2 separate regions of the Homo sapiens genome follow, and region 1 is linked to region 2. The links are contacts of gene promoters, found by promoter capture Hi-C in blood cells and fetal thymus (Javierre and others, 2016). All regions are on one chromosome and are shown on one strand. The core of a region is centred on a gene start or on the middle of the fragment in contact, and the rest is flanking DNA. Distances in the headings are between cores, read along the strand shown.

What was found. Contacts are between HindIII fragments. The CHiCAGO score rates a contact against its expected background, and 5 or more counts as called.
Region 1: a contact is called between a fragment that was not itself captured here and the fragment with the promoter of SLC7A11 in region 2, in 1 of 17 cell types (fetal thymus). The highest score is 5.4, in fetal thymus.

The regions. Positions count from the first base shown.
Region 1 is chr4:140,366,298-140,372,607 of GRCh38, reverse strand. It overlaps SCOC-AS1 (SCOC antisense RNA 1), which reads left to right. Exons shown (of 5, transcript NR_033939.1): 2 at 3,258-3,298. It also overlaps a transcript of SCOC not described here and the pseudogene RPL14P3. Among named protein-coding and RNA genes, the nearest start is that of SCOC-AS1, 3.9 kb to the left of the region's middle. The HindIII fragment of the contact is 4,110 bases long and covers 1-3,599 here.
Region 2 is chr4:138,238,386-138,244,486 of GRCh38, reverse strand. It overlaps SLC7A11 (solute carrier family 7 member 11), which reads left to right and starts at 2,138. Exons shown (of 12, transcript NM_014331.4): 1 at 2,138-2,694. The coding sequence starts at 2,418. RefSeq lists enhancers at 1,884-2,123, 1,593-2,792. The HindIII fragment of the contact is 788 bases long and covers 1,958-2,745 here.

The sequences.
Region 1 (6,310 bases), core at 295-2,794, 2.1 Mb before region 2:
CGACTGCAATATTCAGTTTGAGGAAATTTACTAGAATGCAATGTAGGAGCTAAATAAATGAAAAAAAATCCAACATAAATCTAATAGGAGTGCCAAAAAAGAGAGACTAGAGAGAATGGATGCAGGCAGTATTCAAAGAGTAATAACTAAGAATTTTCCAAGATTGTGGAATATTTGAATTTTCAGATTCAAGAAGTACTTATTCTTGAGCAGGATTAATATAAGAATTCTATGCAACGGTGAAATTGCAGGACACCAAAGATCAAGAGAAACTATTAAAAGCAACCTTTTGTTTTTGCTAGAACAGTATTTTTAAATATTTTTAATTGTAGTGAAATATACATAGAATAAAATTTACCATCTTAACCATTTTTAACTTCAGTAGTATAAGATACATTCCACATTGTTCTCCAACCAATCTCCAGAACCAATCTCTCTTTTCATCTTGCCAAACTAAAACTGTATACCTATTAAAGAGCAACTCTCCATTTCCTATTCCCCTCATCCTCTGGCAGTAATCATCTTACTTTGTGTTTATCAGTTTGACTACTCTAGGTACCTCACCTAAGTGGAATAATACAGAATTTGCCCTTTTATGACTGGCTTATTTCATTTAGCATAATGCCTCAGAGTTCATCCATGTTATAGCATATTGCAGAACTTCCTTTTTAAGGCTGAATAGTTCTATATATCATTTATTATGTGTATTATGCCACATTTTGTTTATTCATCTATCAGTGGACGCTTAGGTTGCTTCCTCCTTTTGGCTATTGTGAATAATACTGCTATGGACATGGGTGTGCAAATGTCTCTTTGAGACCCTCTTTTCAGTTCTTTTGGATATACACCCAGAAGTGTGTGTTAATTTGTGCTGAATCATATGGTAATTCTATTTTAAAGCAACTTTTAAAAAAGTGGTATTGACACAAGAATAGACAAAAAGAAAATTAGGAAAAAAAGGGTACCTGGAAGTTGGTATACAATAAAGATGTCTGGTGAGGAATAACTGTTTCTAAGGTTGTGGGGAAAAAACTATTATTCATTACTGTTGGGAGTGTAAATTAGTATAGTAACTGTTCGTGGGATATAGAAAACACAAGTTATGGTGGTTCTAGTTAAATTGGCTATTTATATAAAAATAAGAAATTCAATCCTGATACCACGACAGAAATAAAACTAAATTCCAAATGAAATAATGATCCAAAATGTGACAAACAAAACTCTAAACTTTTAGAAGAAAAGCGTATGTCTGTATATCGCCGTAGGGAAGAAACAGCACGATTCATTAAGGAAAGATGTAAAATATTGATTATTTTAAAATTTGGAAGTTTTACAAACAGAAGAGAAGCCATCTCTAATCAAGTTAAAAAACAAGCCACAGGTTGGCAGAATATAGTAAAACTCTCAAAATATAAAGAATTCAGGCCAGGCGCGGTGGCTCACGGCTGTAATCCCAGCACTTTGGGAGGTCGAGGCGGGTGGATCACGAGGTCAGGAGATTGAGACCATCCTGGCTAACACGGTGAAACCCCGTCTCTACTAAAAATACAAAAAATTAGCTGGGCGTGGTGGCGGGCGCCTGTAGTCCCAGCTACTCGGGAGGCTGAGGCAGGAGAGTGGCATGAACCCAGGAGGCAGAGCTTGCAGTGACATGGTGCCACTGCACTCCAGCCTGGGCGACAGGGTGAGACTCCGTCTCAAAAAAAAAAAAAAGAATTCAGACAAATCAGTAAGAAAAAGACAACTCAAGATAAATATATGCAAATAACGTAAGTAGGCCACTTACAGAAGAGGAAAACTGAACGGCCAGAAAGGTTTTTAAAAAATGTTTACCTTCACTAATAATTAGGTAAAATAACATTAAAACAATTAGATAAAGGGGCATATTCATCAAGAAGACACAAAATCCTAACCACAGTGCTACAAAATAGAAATGAATCAAAAATTAATTGAATTCAAACAGTTCATTACTCCCTGCTCTGCAATTTGTAAAACAACTATACAGATAATTTAAGTATACAGAACTCAGGTCCCAAACTTTTCAGTATATTAGAATCACCTGGGAATCTTTTAATTATTCTAGTGAACAGACCACACCTCAGAATAAATTACAGTCTTAAGGAGTGAGATACAGGCATTAGTATTTTTGAAAGTTACGAAGGTGATTTTGAAAAAAGGCTGGCAAATTTCTGAACTATTGATATAGAAGACCTGAACAATCCTATCAGCCAACTTGACCTAATGGACATTTGTAGAACATTGCACCCAATAACTGAAGAACATGCTTTCTTTTCCAATGCACTTGGAAAATTCATCAAAATAGACTCCACTGTGTATCATCAAACAAATCTCAGCAAATTTAAAATAATTGAAACAGTAAAAATTATTGTCTCTACCCACAAATTAAACTAGAAATCAGTAACAGAAAGATATTTGTAAATCTCCAAATAGTTGGAAATCAAACTATGTACTTCTAAACAAACCATGGGTCACAGGGGAAGTCACACACAAAAAAATTAGAAAGTAATTTTAAACTAAAATGTAAACATAAAAAGGCAGCTCTTGCATGACTCAGCTTTCAGCTTATTTTCAGCTTTCAGACTTGGGAGGCTGAAGCAGGAGAACTGCTTGAACCCAGGAGGTGGAGGTTGTAGTGAGCTGAGATGGCGCCATTGCACTCCAACCTGGACAACAAGAGCGAAACTCCATCTAAAAAAAAAAAAAAAAAAAAAAAAAAAAAAAAAAAAAAATCCCCCTTCTGAATAAGGAAAGGCTATAAGTACAAATAGAAACCACTGAGATTGCATAGAAATATTTGATTATAAGGTGAACATTCATGCGACCTGGACTATGTGAATATTGATAATATAGTTCATCTAAATAAAGGCACAAAATTACATTTTTTTTCCTAGAGAATGGGGGAAGTCCTAATTGAAAACTGTACAAGGCAATATATTATGTGGGGGAAGAAATGATAAATAATGAAATAGAGAACTTCCAATATCTTTTTGATGTTCCAGTCTGGCACACTCTCATTGTGCACATACAAGCTGCTATTTTGTCTTAATTAGAGGGTTCTAAACGTACTGTGGATATTTAAGGTGAAATATGCTAAATGGAAGCATTTTTGATAACTTTCAAGTATAACCAGGTGTGTTGTCTGATGCTTTAAGCTCATTAATTTGCAGAACATGTTCCATCTCATTCCTAAATAAGAACTCACATTTTCTTTTTTACTCATTTTTTTCACTTGAAAGGTTATTGAATTCATTGGAGAATGAATGCTGTTCTGAATTTGGTGAGTAAAGAATATAACCTATTTGTTAAAACTTGATTTCAAAACTAGACGTAATTGTATACTACAGCCTAGTATACTATACTCAACAGTATACCATATAGCTATTTGGTAAATTAAGGTGTTCATGTATACTTTCTCAAGATTATAATTTCTGATAATAACCAAAAGTAAATAAATTTGATGAGTCATTTTCATTTATTTGTTCAATAGGTAGAGGGAATGTAAGAAATTACCAATGTACTTTTAGAGTTTTTTCAAGCAAGAATTCCAAAGGATTTCAAGGTCTTTATGGAATCAAGCTTTGGACTTTATCATAAAAATGGAAATAATTAGGAATGATTCTGTGCAGTCTCGGTGCTGTGAAAGGAGAATAAAAACGTGAGACTCCAGTTCACTCTGCCAGAAGGAAAAAAATAAGCTGAAAGCTGAGTCATGCAAGAAGCTGCCTTTTCTTCTGTTCCTAAGCAGATAGCTACAGATAAAAGGTTAAATATCTCCATAGGTAGCTACTCTATGTTCACCCTATTTCATGTAAAGTGCTGATTTGCTGCACACAAGATGAATGCATCATTCACCATTCCCCTACCTGCGCCTTTTCTCCTGCAACTTAGATTACTATACCCTCGCTCTTACCTCTCCAACCCACTTTTCCCCTTTAAATACTGAAGCTCTCAAAGTCATCCTTGGATAAAGGAACAGACCAGAGACTGTTTCTGTGATTCTGTGTTCTTTTCTTCCAGGTATGTCCTTAACCTTGGCAAAATCAACTTCTAAATTGAATGAGACCTGTCTGAGATACTTTTTGGTTTACAGTCCTTATTTTTCTCTAGATAGTATTTTCAAATTAGCATTTCCCCCAGAATTGGTATTTATACCTCTGGTTGTACAAGATGAATTTTTAAAAATAATTACATGTTTATTTTATTATAATAAATACGAATAATACAAGAAATTCTCAATTCACAGATGTTAACATGTTGCTTAGAATAAAGCTAAGTTCAAAACTGATTTTAATTAAATGGTTAATTTAATGTGGCAAAAATTATGATGTAGGTATATGATTGGTTCAGAAAACTCTGATCTACCAACAACGTGACAAGCATTGGTTTGAAGAAGAAGAAACCTGGGTTCTTGTTCTGGCTCAGCCTAGATTGAATTCATTCCATTCTTTGCTCATTTAAAAGTTTAGTTTTGTGACTATATCGTGAGCTAGATACTGTACAGCATTCAAATATTTGAAATTAACCATGAGACTGCAGGGAGTTAGTCACTTTCCTGTCCACCCCTGTTTCCTCAAGTGAGGGCTTGGAAGAGAGTTCATTTAGCTTCTTAACATGGTGTAAAATAACATTAAGAACTTTATCAAACAACACTACCAGTGAGTTAAGTGAATGGTTCCCTATATTTAAGAGTCAATCTTTGCTGGTAAGATTGTGTCTGACCATCCAGCTTTTGGCACCCTGCCTGCCACAGGTTCTCAAAGCATATTTTCTGAGTGAGTTGTCATTGAGCCACCTCATTCCAGCTTTTGTGATTTTGTGATTCTGTGATTCTCTAAACACGAATCTACATTTTCAATCATGTCAGCTGGGTACTTGCTCACTAAAATTTTATAAAAATAATCTGGCTTTAGACTGGGCACAGTGGCTCACATCTGTAATCCCAGAACTTTGGGAGGCTGAGGCAGGTGGATCATGAGGTCAGGAGATCAAGACCATTCTGGCCAACATGGTGAAACCCCGTCTCTACTAAAAATACAAAAATTAGCCAGGCATGGCAGCACACACCTGTAGTCCCAGCTACTCGGGAGGCTGAGGCAGGAGAACTGCCTGAACCTGGGAGGCAGAGGCTGCAGTTAGCTAAGATCACGCCACTGCACTCCAGCCTGGGCAACACAGCAAGACTCCATCTCAAAAAAAAAATAATCTGGCTTTAAAATCAAGATTAATCATATGTGTCTGGGTCACTAAAGGAGATTCTGTTTTTAACAAGCATAAAGTAATTCTCTGAAGAGCATAGAAGTCAGGGTTACAGTGATAACTAATATTTTTATTTATTTATTTATTTATTTATGAGAAATGGTCTTACTCTGTCACCCAGGCTGGTGTGTAGGGTCTTGCTCTGTTGCCCAGGCTGGAGTGCAGTGGTGCGATTTTGGCTGACTGCAACCTGCACCTCCCAGGTTCAAGTGATTCTCCTCCTCAGCCTCCCGAGCAACTGGAATTACAGGTGCCTGCCATGACACCCGGCTAATTTTTGTATTTTTAGTAGAGATGAGGTTTCACTATGTTGGTCAAGCTAGTCTCAAACTCCTGACCTCAAGCGATCCACCCACCTGGGCCTCCCAAAGTGCTGGGATTACATGCGTGAGCCACCACGCCTGGTCAATAACTAATATTTTATAAAAGAATGCACCTGGCCTTCTTCCTTCTTGCCAAACGCCACCAACATGGTGTTCAGGCGCTTCGTGGAGGTTGGCCGTGTGGGCTACATCCCCTCTGGACCTCGTGCCAGAAAATTGGTTGCAACTGTAGATGTTATTGATCAAAACAGGGCTTTGGTTGATGGACCTTGCACTCAAGTGAGGAGACAGACCATGCCTTTCAAGTGCATGCAGCTCACTGATTTCAACCTCAAGTTTCCACACAGAGCCCACCAGAAGTATGTCAGACAAGCCTGGCAGAAGGCAAACATCAATACAAAATGGGCAGCCACACGATGGGCCAAGAAGATTGAAGCCAGAGAAAGGAAAGCCAAGATGACAGATTTTGATCATTTTAAAGTTATGAAGGCAATGAGGAACAGAATAATCAAGAATGAAGTTAAGAAGCTTCAAAAGGCAGCTCTCCAAAAGCTTCTCCCAAAAAAGCACCTGCTGCGAAGCGTGCTACTGCTGCTGCAGCTGCTGCTAAAGTTCTAGCAAAAAGATGACCGCTGCAGGCAAGAAGGCTCCAGCTTAGAAGCTTCCTGCCCAGAAAGCCACAGGCCAGAAGGCAGCGCCTCCTCCAAAAG
Region 2 (6,101 bases), core at 889-3,388:
TTACAAGCTTAGAACTGGCAATTTTAAGAGTTCAAGGCAATTCAACATTTTCTTTATAAACTGCATTTTCTACAGATTTTGGGGTGCTTAGAAGAGGTACACTGGTGCCCTTAGCAGCAATGTGCAGCTTTGCAAACATTCTGAGTGGTGGCCTCTATCTTACATGAAAGTACAATCCTTTTGGTTTTTAGTCTAACATCAGCCATTTTTCTTCATAATTAAAAAAAAAATACTGTGAGGAGGAAAATGTTATTTAATATTGAAAGAATAATCGTCCTTTATAATTCATTCAGTTTCCTATCTGAGTGGGGTCTTTGGCTCAACTTATGAGTTCAGTTATTTATAACAAAATTTAAAATTAAAGTGTGACACTGTGTTAATTAGAGAAAGTTGCTGTTCCCTGAGATTCCTAGTGTCCTACTTTTACCTCATATTTCTTCAGAGCTAATATGTTTCTCTTACTGGGAAAGAAGAGCTGCTCCTTAGGTCCATTAATCAGGAAAATTGTGTGAGTGAAAGGAGATGTAGGAGGAGGAAGAGAATTGGAAAGAAAAGAATCTCTATTTAGCTTCCTTCTTTGGGAGTTTTAGCAGGATTGCATGAGGAAAATGATCCATTTTTGTTTTTTGAAAGACATTAACAACTGAGAAAAAGTATTTATTTTGGTTTTATAAAAACTTTAACTTGGTGTAGCTGAAACCAATTATATAGAATTTAGATAGATAATTTAAAAAGGAGAAAATGTAGCCTCAATTATTTGGATGGCAAAGCATTGAGGTGGTGTCATTTTCTCAGGTGTCAACATAACAGAAAATGGTTCTGACCTTTTCCATGCTACTTTCCTAATGGCGATTTCTCATTTCTTTCTTTGATCATCCTCACCATACTTGACTCCCTTCTTTCCCTGCCAACCTCTCGCACACAGGCTTTTTGTTTGTGGTTTTTGTTCAAAGGTTCAGAAGCTTATTTAATGGTGCGTATAAAGGTAGCTTCAGGGTAATGATAACATTCAATTCTTCTCACTGAATCCAAAACCACATGTAACTATAGCCAAAAATGATATCTAGGATTTCTTTTCTTTTCATATTTGTTTTTTCTTGACACTTGGTTGAGAAAGTTAGAAGGGTTTAAAAATGTTTTGCCTTTTTGACTATTGCAAAGTAAATATTTTAATTTAGCTTACATTTTTAATGCATTTTAAATTTATAATAATAACAATAGTTTATATAATGTGGAAAAAAGTCATACATAATATCATTACTTTCTATAACTACCATTCTGTTTTCCTTTACAGGCTTTTGCTATATACATATTTTTATGTAATTGTAATTGTGTAATTTTGAACTTAGAAATTTTTTTTGGTAATTCAAAGGAACAACATGACAATGAAGGATATGTATCTTTTACATAGTTCAAAAAAATCACCTAGTGCTAATGAGAATCAGAAAATGACTATTTTCTGGAGTCATGGTGAATTTTGTATTAGTCACACTCGGATGGTGATTTAAAATACTGGTTTATTATGAGTAGTAAGAAATAATTTTATCTTTTAATGTTGAGGAAGGCTTATAGTTGTGTGTATGTGACAGAAGTATAAAGTGTAGAATCTTTAATTTTGTAAATATTGGATTTGACTGTATTGCCTTATAAAAAACTCAAAATAAAAAAATAAAAAGCATTACACAAATTATGAAATTCAAACTGTGTTGTTATAAACAATGTAGCTTTAGGATACATTCTACTCACAAAACAGTCGCATGTAAAATGTTTTTATACACGCATTAAAGAAAAAGAAACTCCTTAAAATGAAGTAACTATTTCCTGTTTCATTTTGTTTGAACAGCTTTTGTTGCTCACTACGAGTTGCTTTAAATCTCTGGGAAGGTCTGTTCCGAATTTACTACTTCTGGATTGGCTAAAATCTCTTTAAAGTGTGTGCTTTGTTCTCTAAAAAGCTTAGGTCAGTTGAGCAACAAGCTCCTCCTGTTTTTTTCTTTTTTTAAAAAAAAGAGCTGAGTAATGCTGGAGGCTTCTCATGTGGCTGATGCAAACCTGGAGAATTTGCATCATCATTTAGCTGTAGTAAGTTGGTGTGACAGGCAGGCGCTTAAATACAAGCCCATGAGGAAGCTGAGCTGGTTTGTAATGATAGGGCGGCAGCAGCAGCAGCAGCAGCAGTGGTGGAACGAGGAGGTGGAGAATTGAGAGCACGATGCATACACAGGTGTTTCTGAGTAGTAATTAGATCGCTGTGAAGGAAAAAGCACACCTTTGAGTTTTCACCTGTGAACACTATAGCGCTGAGAGAGACAGTCTGAAAGCAGAGGAAGACATCGATCAGTAACACCAAGAGACACCAAAGTTGAAAGTTTTGTTTTCTTTCCCTCTGTTTTATTTTTCCCCCGTGTGTCCCTACTATGGTCAGAAAGCCTGTTGTGTCCACCATCTCCAAAGGAGGTTACCTGCAGGGAAATGTTAACGGGAGGCTGCCTTCCCTGGGCAACAAGGAGCCACCTGGGCAGGAGAAAGTGCAGCTGAAGAGGAAAGTCACTTTACTGAGGGGAGTCTCCATTATCATTGGCACCATCATTGGAGCAGGAATCTTCATCTCTCCTAAGGGCGTGCTCCAGAACACGGGCAGCGTGGGCATGTCTCTGACCATCTGGACGGTGTGTGGGGTCCTGTCACTATTTGGTGAGTGCGACTTTTTCTCTCGTGGGGGCGTGGCTGTGGGGCTGGAAAGCTTGCTTTCTGGGAAAGCAAATGGTAGTTTTTGAGGAGTGAATGGATGGCAAAGGCCACACCAAATTTTTAAAATTTTTGTTCGGGTACGTGAACTACCCAGATGCAGCATCCGCTGTTGGTGTGATCTGGAACACCCTCAAATTGCTTCCTACAGGCTGTACTTTCTTTTCCTGACTAAGACAGGCTATCTTCTGACTTTTCTCTGTGGTGATGAGAGCAAAGGCTAACTTTCATGACCCAGTAAAAAACATGCACACTTTCTGTGCCGGGCAGTTGTACACTTAGCTTGGGCATTCTGGCAGCTGGCATGCTGAATGAGACACCTGTGAAGTGGAACCTGGCATGGGCTATTTAGACATAGAACGGAGTGTTCAGCAGAAGTCTTACTGACTTTTTATTAGCCAAACAAATGGGTGGCAGTCTTTATAAAAATATTTTTTAAGTTCATGTGCTTGTCACCTCTTAATATCCTTTCAAAAGTCCTTGACATGGGAGAGATGTATGATGGCGCATAACTCAATCCCTATCATAATGGGGTATATTGCAATGGCCTGAGCATATTTCAAATTACTTTTCAACCTTTCATCTCTTCTCAATACCCATACACTTTTGCAATATAAGTTTTAAAACTTCAGTTGGGCGTTAGTTTTCTGTACTTGCCCAGATCTGTTTTTTTCATTATATTTCACTTGTTCTCCAGGGACACAGAGAATTTGTCCACCTGTTCACTAAATTAATCTGAAGGGAACTGGCAGAAGTATAATTATGAATTTTTCTTCAAAGTTTATGTCTCTTCTATTGATCTGAGAATTAATAGTAAAGAGGTAAATAAATGCCCCCTTATGGAGTAGGCAAATTACTAGAGAGCTACCTGAGTTTGTTGTAAAGATGATAAAAACTGGTGAACTGTCAAACATTAAATTTGATTTATGCTATGAGGATTTATTTACTCTTCTTGGGAAAGATTCTGTACTTTAAAGTTGCTCTTTGTCTTAACTCTGGGACTAACACTAACTAACAAGTACTAACGCTAACTCTAGGACTAATTAACAAGTACTAACTCCTGTTCCCATGTGTACCAATCAATTCATTCTTTCTACTCAGGCCTTGTGATGTTTTAAATCATTGGTTTGACACTCATCTAGAGAACTCAAATTCCATTTTTTTTTTTTTTTTGAGACAGAGACTCGCTCTTTGCCCAGGCTGGAGTGCAGTGGTGTGATCTCGGCTCACTGCAACCTCCGCCTCCCAAGTTCAAGCAATTCTCCTGCCTAAGCCTCCCGAGTAGCTGGGACTACAGGTGTGTGCCACCACGTTGGGCTTATTTTTCGTATTTTTTAGTAGAGATGGGGTTTCACCATGTTAGCCAGGATGGTCTCGATCTCCTGACCTCGTGATCCACCCACCTCAGTCTCCCAAAGTGCTGGGATTACAGATATGAGCCACCGCGCCCGGTCCTCAAATTCCATTTTTAGGAAGAAGTTATTTTAAATAGAACTTGTTAAAACAAGTAGTATAGAAAGATTTATAGAGGAATTATTTGGGGTTTTTAGAGAGAGTTTGTGGTATTATTTATAACTAACTTGTGCTTTATTAAATATTCAGTAACAATTGTGTATCATTATTTCCCAGTATTACTTCCCATCTTTATAAAATAATTTGGAGTAATATCATTATGAAAAACTCTAATAGTACCCTTAGCCACTATTAATATTAAAATAGCTCTGGTATATGCACTTATAGAAAAAGAGAAACCTAATTGTTGATCATCTTAAATGATTTTGTGCACCCTCAGCCTTTAAATCTTCCTACAGCACTTTATATATTCAGAATAAATCAATATCTAATCAGAAAAACCACAACCAGTTTACTGGACTTTGCGTACTTATGTGCATGCAGCTTCCACTATGTGATTCAATTTTTGCACATAATAAAAGATTATTCAGATGTAATAAAATAGATCAGTATGAGTATTGAACTAGTTAAAGTGTGTTGACTTGCACTATGAAAATATGCTTATGCATAAGTATTACATATCATCTGAAGCAAAAGCTCAAAAAAAAATAAAAAGAGAGAAACAGCTAAGGAGACTAGCTAACATTACACTTGAGTTGGTATTCTTTGATTAGTAATTGCAGGGAGTGTGCTCTTGTATTAATCTACTTATCTTTATTTGCATTGCATTTGTCACTTAAGTTACCAGAAGCTTTTGGACAGGAGTGCCTCTGTAACAGCAAGCAAAGCAAAATCTGAAGAAAAAATAATCCTTCTTTTTAAAAAGACTCTAGAACTTTGGGACCAACTGTAAAGAATCTGTACATTTGGTTTAATACATATATATACTTTTTTTTTAAGTGAAGGGTCAATACATGGATTTTTACATCTTGTTTTGAACTTTTTTCATCTGGGCAAAATGGTTATGAAGCTTGAGACCTTTAAATGAAAATCATTCCCCCAGAACTCAGTTTAAACCTAGGGCAACCATCCTGGAGTTTCAGTAAAGCATATAGAGGTCTAGGTATTGATTCTCTGACAATAAATTCTGAGGTACTTAAGACTCTTCCCAATAACATTTTATATTGGATCCTTTTCTGGACAGCCTACCAACATGGCGAATGTTTCCCCATGGAGAGTGAGTTGCAACTAGTTAAAATTAGTTATAGGTAGATGAAATACATCAGTGTTCCCCAAATATTAGTCTGCAGACTCGTTACTTTAGAATTATTTGTACAAATTTTAAAATGATAGAGATTCTTGAATTTCTCTTGTGGACAATCTATACTCTCTTGATTAGAGTCTGTTTTTGGTTTGAGTGTTTTCGAATTAAAAATTATTCCCAGACTGAGCATGGTGGCTCATGCCTATAATCTCAGCACATTGGGAGGCTGAGGCAGACAGACCCCTTGAGCCCAGGAGTTCCAGACCAGCCTGGGCAACATGGCAAAACCCTGCCTCTACAAAAAATACACAAAAATTTAGCTGGGCATGGTGGTGTGTACCTGTGGTCCCAGCTACTTGGGAGGCTGACGTGGAAGGATCACTTGAGCTCAGGAGGCAGAGGCTGCAGTGAGGCAAGATTGTGCCACTGCACTCCAGCCTAGGTGCCAGAGTGATACCCTATCTCAAAAATTAAAAAAAAAAAAAAATTATTCCTAGGTGACTTTGATGTCATGATAAGTTTAGAAATCAGATATAAAATATGTAACACTAAGATTTCACTGAATATCCAAATTATATTTATATTGAGCAGTTCTGTCTAAATTATTACTAATCAGTAGTACTTTTCTACACTTTTATTCTCAGAAGTAGATTGGAAAAAAATTGTGTTCTTACATTTGAGCACTTGGCAGTACAGA